2 separate regions of the Homo sapiens genome follow, and region 2 is linked to region 1. The links are contacts of gene promoters, found by promoter capture Hi-C in blood cells and fetal thymus (Javierre and others, 2016). All regions are on one chromosome and are shown on one strand. The core of a region is centred on a gene start or on the middle of the fragment in contact, and the rest is flanking DNA. Distances in the headings are between cores, read along the strand shown. Region 1 holds the start of LEO1 (LEO1 component of Paf1/RNA polymerase II complex). Region 2 overlaps ATOSA (atos homolog A).

Evidence for each region. The method cuts DNA at HindIII sites, captures the fragments that hold promoters and counts their contacts. A CHiCAGO score of 5 or more calls a contact.
Region 2: a contact is called between a fragment that was not itself captured here and the fragment with the promoter of LEO1 in region 1, in 1 of 17 cell types (non-activated CD4 T cells). The highest score is 5.3, in non-activated CD4 T cells.

Annotation. Positions count from the first base shown.
Region 1 is chr15:51,970,051-51,973,195 of GRCh38, reverse strand. It overlaps LEO1 (LEO1 component of Paf1/RNA polymerase II complex), which reads left to right and starts at 1,418. Exons shown (of 12, transcript NM_138792.4): 1 at 1,418-1,508. The coding sequence starts at 1,451. It also overlaps a transcript of MAPK6 not described here. RefSeq lists enhancers at 1,149-1,724, 1,372-1,901, 1,725-2,301. The HindIII fragment of the contact is 6,227 bases long and covers 677-3,145 here.
Region 2 is chr15:52,598,227-52,601,183 of GRCh38, reverse strand. It overlaps ATOSA (atos homolog A), which reads left to right. Exons shown (of 13, transcript NM_001385016.1): 8 at 19-98; 9 at 949-1,057. Among named protein-coding and RNA genes, the nearest start is that of ARPP19, 31 kb to the right of the region's middle. The HindIII fragment of the contact is 2,787 bases long and covers 86-2,872 here.

The sequences.
Region 1 (3,145 bases), core at 169-2,668:
ATTGATGATTACATACCCAGTCCCACCCATTTGGACCCTGTTAAGCACTGAAGTTTACTACAAAAATATATATCATATAATCTCCAAACTAAATATTCATTGTTGCTTGTCCAAGACCAAAACTCTCATAATGGCCTAATTAGGTAATGTAACACAGGATGTACTCTTTTCTCACTTTTTCTTCTAAGAAACAGAGCCTTACTCTGTCACTCAGGCTAGAGTGAAGTGGCGTGATCATAGCTCACTGCAGCCTCCAACTCCTGGGCTCAAGTGATCCTCCATTCTCAGTTTCCTGAGTAGCTAGGGCTACAAATGCATGCCATCATGCCTGGCTAATGTTTTTATTTTTAATTATTTTATTTTATTATTATTATTTTTTTGAGATGGAGTCTCGTGCCCAGGCTGGAGTGCAGTGGCGCGATCTCGGCTCACTGCAAGCTCCGCCTCCTGGGTTCACGCCATTCTCCTGCCTCATCCTCCCTAGTAGCTGGGACGACAGGCGCCCACAACCACGCCCGGCTAATTTTTTTTATTTTAGTAGAGACGGGGTTTCACCGTGTTAGCCAGGATGGTCTCGATCTCCTGACCTCGTGATCCACCCGCCTCGGCCTCCCAAAGTGCTGGGATTACAGGCGTGAGCGACCGCGCCCGGCCAAAAAAATGGTCATTTAAAGCTTAAAAAAGCTGTTTGTTAACATGTATATTATTTTTAAATGAATTAGTAACTTAAAAATTTATTACCGTATTAGTAAGAATACAGTAAATATCAATACCCGTACCTGTAATCCCAGCACTTTGGGAGGCCGAGGCGGGCGGATTGCCTGAGCTCCTGAGTTTGCGACCAGCCTGGGCAACACGGTGAAACCCCGTGTCTACTAAAATACAAAAAATTAGCCGGGTGTGGTGGCGGGCGCCTGTCGTCCCAGCTACTCGGGAGGCTGAGGAATTAGAATTGCTTGAACCCGGACAGTGGAGGTTGCTGTGAGCCGAGATCGCGCCACTGCACTCCAGCCTGGGCGACTGAGCGAGACTCCGTCTCAACAATTTTTAAGAGGGTAAAGGGGTTTGGGATGAAATAACTGGAGAACAGCTGCTCAGTAAGAAACAAAGGGCTTCAATCCTGACTCGCGATAGGTTTAATCCAGCCAGAGGCCCTTCCCCAGAGAGCGCCAGTCACCGCCCACCCCATCCACACCCGCAACCGAACGCAGGACCCCCCCGCCCCCTGGTAAGAATCCTGGCAAATAACAGATATTGACGAAATGGCCGGGCTTATATACCATGCATACCCAGGCGAGAACAGGTTCACTGGGCGAGCGAAAACTAGGTCACGTAAGGAAAGGAGTGTCTTCGGCGAATCTTTGCGACACTGTCGTGTTTCAGTGGTTCCGTGCCGTAAAGAGAGGCCGGGAGCTGCCCCTAACCGAGGCAGCAGCGGACGTGAGCGATAATGGCGGATATGGAGGATCTCTTCGGGAGCGACGCCGACAGCGAAGCTGAGCGTAAAGGTGGGTTCGCTGGTCTTCGGAGGATGGGTGCGTGGCAGGCCTTCCGCTGTGGGAGCCGGACAACCGTGGAGGCTCCAGCGCCGCGGGCAAGAGGTGGCGTTTCCTCCACTCCTGCCTCAGCGCCCCCTGCACTCCCGGAGGTGCCATCCTCCTCCGGCGGGCAGGATGGAGAGTCAGACAGTCTGCGCCTCGAGGCTCTGGGTGTCGGTGGAGCAGACGGTTCCTGGGAGCTTGTGGAGCGAAAGGGGCGCGGGGCATGGGTGGAAGTGCAGGCGAGCCTGCGCAGCGCGGGTAGGAACGTTGGAGTCCTGTTCCGCCTTGCCTTGCACAGGCCAGCGTAGAGTAAGGGCTGTTTTTGAATGAATGGAAATGAATGCAGGAATATGGGATGGGGTGGGCGAATTTACAGAGGGCCTCAGAATGCCGTCTTGAATGAAACCAGAGCATGGTGTGATAGGGAGCTTGAGATGTCTGGATGACGAGTCTGGGACGGATAATGGGATGGGGTTACAGATAGATGTTTCACATAGGAGAGAATGTGTTCTCTAAGAGCTTGTGCAGAAACTCCAGAATTTCCGGAGTCTGTGATGTTAGATTGGGGAGTGCATGGGGTCTGTGTACAGAGAGGAGGAATGAAGGATTTGTTGATGAAATGAATGAATTAGTGTATGTGCATGCTGCTTGGAAGTTATTTCTGGCACAGGATTGTGGGTGTTTTTTTAAAGTTTACTTTTTTAGAGACAGGGTCTCACTGTGTTGCTCAGGTTGGCCTTGAACTTCTGGGCTCAAGCCATCCTTCTGCCTCAGCCTCCAAGTAGTTGAGACTACGGGCACTTGAAATATGAATAGGAGCTATTTGAAGTGAGAACCCAAGACCAAGTTCAGAATTCTTGCAACCCTCTAGGCTCCAAGTAAAGTGAGTCTCTTGTAGACAACATATATCTAGTTGTTATTTTCATCACCCCCAAATAAAACACTGTTCATAAAGCACTTACTCCTCATATGCTCCTTCCTCCAACCCCTGTCTGCTATTGTTTCTGTACTTATCTGTTCTGGGAATTTCATATAAATTGAATCATGCATTGTGGTCTTTTGTGTCTGGTTTCTTTTACTTAGCATAATGTCTTCAAGGCATTGTAGCACATATCAGTACTTTATTCATTTTTAATGATTTAATAATATTCCATTGAATGTGCACACCCTAAATTTGTTAATCCATTTATCTGTTGATGGACATTGGGTTGTTTGAATAGTGCTACTGTAAACATTCCTGGTTCCGGCAGGCGGATTTGCCTGAGCTCAGGAGTTGAAGACCAGCCTGGGCAACATGGTGAAACCCTGTCTCTACTAAAAATACAAACTGTTAGCCAGGTGTGGTCGTGCGTGCCTGTAGTCCCAGGTACTCAGAAGGCTGAGGCATGAGAATCACTTGAACCCAGGAGACAGAGGTTGGCAGTGAGCTGAGATTGCATCACTTCACTTCAACCTGGGTGATAAAGTGAGACTCTGTCTCCAAAAAAATAAATAAATTCATGTACATGTTTGGGTGCCTGTTTTTAATTTTGGGAGGAGGGTATTATGTAGGAGTGCAGAGTCATATGGTAATTCTTTAATATTTTGAGGAGCAGCCAAACTGT
Region 2 (2,957 bases), core at 230-2,729, 630 kb before region 1:
TGATCGTTTTGACCTTAGGTTCCTCAAAGAAAAACACAATCAGGTTGCTTTGATCTGGATTCTTCATTACTACATCTGAAAAGCTTCTCATCTAGAAGGTATTTATCTCAAAATTCATTTGTGTGTTTCAAACAGAATTTCACAAAATTCTGGTCTTTAACAATAAATAATGTTGATTCTAAACATCAGAATTGTAACAGGAATCTTATTTAGAGTATGATACCATGTACACACGCAGTTATTAAGGATGAGTGTGGAAGAAATTAAGGCAATGAGTAGCAACTATATAGTGGTCATCATAATAAACTCTTACATTGGTTTTAAGTGGTTTTATATATTTCTAGTTATTAACCTCTACTACCTTTTACTCTTTGACGGAAAAAAAAAAAACAACCTTGGCCATTTTTTTCCGTGTTGGCAAATAATACTCTGATTATAATCTTTAGTCACACAATTTTGCCCTTGTATTCTCATTCTTAACTGAAAATAAGATTGATATAGAAGTCTGCATTATTATTTATTTCCAGTAGATGCCACTATGTGATATGTTCTAAATTCCACCTCGAAACCTTTTAGGATGTGTGTATGTGTGTTTATAAAATATAAAATATAAAGAAAGATAAAATCTGGGAATTTAAAACTTGAAATTTTATATTTTAAAATTTGATAACATTAATTTATTATGGTAGTTTGAGTAGAGTTCAGATTTTCTTAATTTTGTACAAAAGTAAATAATATTGTGCCTTGGCTTGGTGACTCACACCTGTAGTCTCCAGCACTTTGGGAGGCTGAGGCAGGAGGATTGCCTGAAGCCAGGAGTTTGAGCTGTATGAGCTATGATGGTGCCACTGTACTCCCGCCTGGGTGACAGAGTGAGACCCTGTCTCAAGATTAAAAAAAAAAGTATTGTGGCTAATGTGTTCTTTTGCTGATTTGTTTTTCTAATAGTCCTCGACCATGTTTAAACATTGAAGATGATCCAGATATTCATGAAAAACCATTTTTGAGTTCTAGTGCTCCACCTATAACAAGTCTTAGTCTCCTAGGAAATTTTGAGGTAATGTGCTTTGAAACTGTTCTTTAAATGAAAATTTTATACCCTAGGTTCTAGGGTGTCATTTTATATGTCTTTAACTTTGGTTGTGAAAAGGAAAGAAATAATTGTCTTTTTTCAAGCCTTGAAATTACCTTTTTATTTTATTTTCACAAGAAGGGAAATCAGAATTGTTGGCAGTGATGTCTTAGAATTGGATAGCTGGTAGTGGAGAAGAGAAGACCTGATGAAATCAGGTTGGATTGAGGAATCTGTTACTTAAGCCGGGAGCATAGATTTGACCACATCTTCTTACTTGGTAAAATTGGGTCTAGGACCCAGAGAAAATAGTGGTGGGCTAATAGCAGCCCCCTCATAATCAGGGAAGTTGATTTGCAAAACCAAAAGGTTTTCTGTACTTTATTTGCAACTTTTTTGTAAATCTGCAGCTATTCTAAAGTAACAAGGTTATTTTTTAAAAATTCAAATAAAGATTTCTGATATGTTTACTCACAATATTTCTACTTGGGGTCAAGTAGAAATCATGGGTTTCAATTGTCTGTAATTAGAAATCAGCTTAACCTTAAACACGAACTTGTAAATGACATTTTTAAAGTGATTTTAACTGGTGAGTTTTTTAGGAGAAAATAATTAAAATTTTATATTTTTAAGATAAATAGTTTTACAGGAGTTGTGTTTTGATATATTAACCATTTGCTTTATAACTATTTTAATAGTGAAGCTATCTTTCACAGTCTTAGTGGAAATGAAAAGATATTTCATGGTAAGTCTTTTCCATGTCAATTCCAAGGTATCAGTTCAGAGATGTCAAGCTCTCTATTCCTCTTTGTCATCAAATTAAAATTGCATAGGCCATTGTTAGGGTCGGGTGGCTCAGCAACCTTTGTACTACAAGAAATTATTTTTCTTGCTCCTTTTGAGACATGTACTACAAAAAATGTATAAGTGAAAAAGAGAGCAGTCTGATATGTCAAAACTTTGGAAAAGGGAATGTATTAGACTGTTTTTGCATTGCTATAAAGAAAGGCCAGAGGCTGGATAATTTATAAAGAAAAGAGGTTTAATTGGCTCACAGTTCTGCAGGCTTTACATGAAGCATGGTGCTGGCATCTGCTTCTGATGAGGCCTCAGGGAGCTTTTACTTATAGTGGTAGGCAAAGTGGGAGCAGGCACATCATATGGTGAGAGCAGGAACAAGAGAGCAAGGAGGGAGGTGCCATATGCTTTTAAACAACCGGATCTCGTAAGAACCTACTGTTGCAAGGACAGAACCAAGCTATTTGTGAAAGATCCACCTCCATGACCGAAATACCTCCTACCAGGCCCCACCTTCAATTTTGGGGATTACATTTCAACATGAGATTTGAAGGGGACAATATGCAAACCATGTCAGGGAAGATAGTTAAAGATCAGTACACAGTTTTTTTCAGACGATTCTATTTGTGCAGATATACATACATTTTCCAAGTGACTTAAGAAATAGAGATGTTCTGAGACTATCCAACCCATAGGTCTTATTTATAATGAATTTGATGTTTTCTTCAGTAAATTACAGAAGATATTTCCTCTGCTTAGTGAATTTGACATTCTGTGCAATAAAAGATGGGGTTAGACTTGAGTCACTAAAATGACACATTAGACTTGTTTAATGAAAACAGGGCAAAGTCTTATCCCTGTAATGTTGTTGGGGGAAATCATGATCCTTAGACATTATTTGTGGGGCATTAGGTGGAGTCTGGAAACACATGGACACAGAATAACACCCAAATAGTCTAATAGCTAATAGTCACCTTTTCTTGCCACCATTTAGAGCAAGCTTGTCCAGCCTGCGGCCCAGGACAGCTTTGAATGCAGCCCAACACAAATTCGTAAACTTTCTTAAAATGTTGTTAGATTTTTTTTG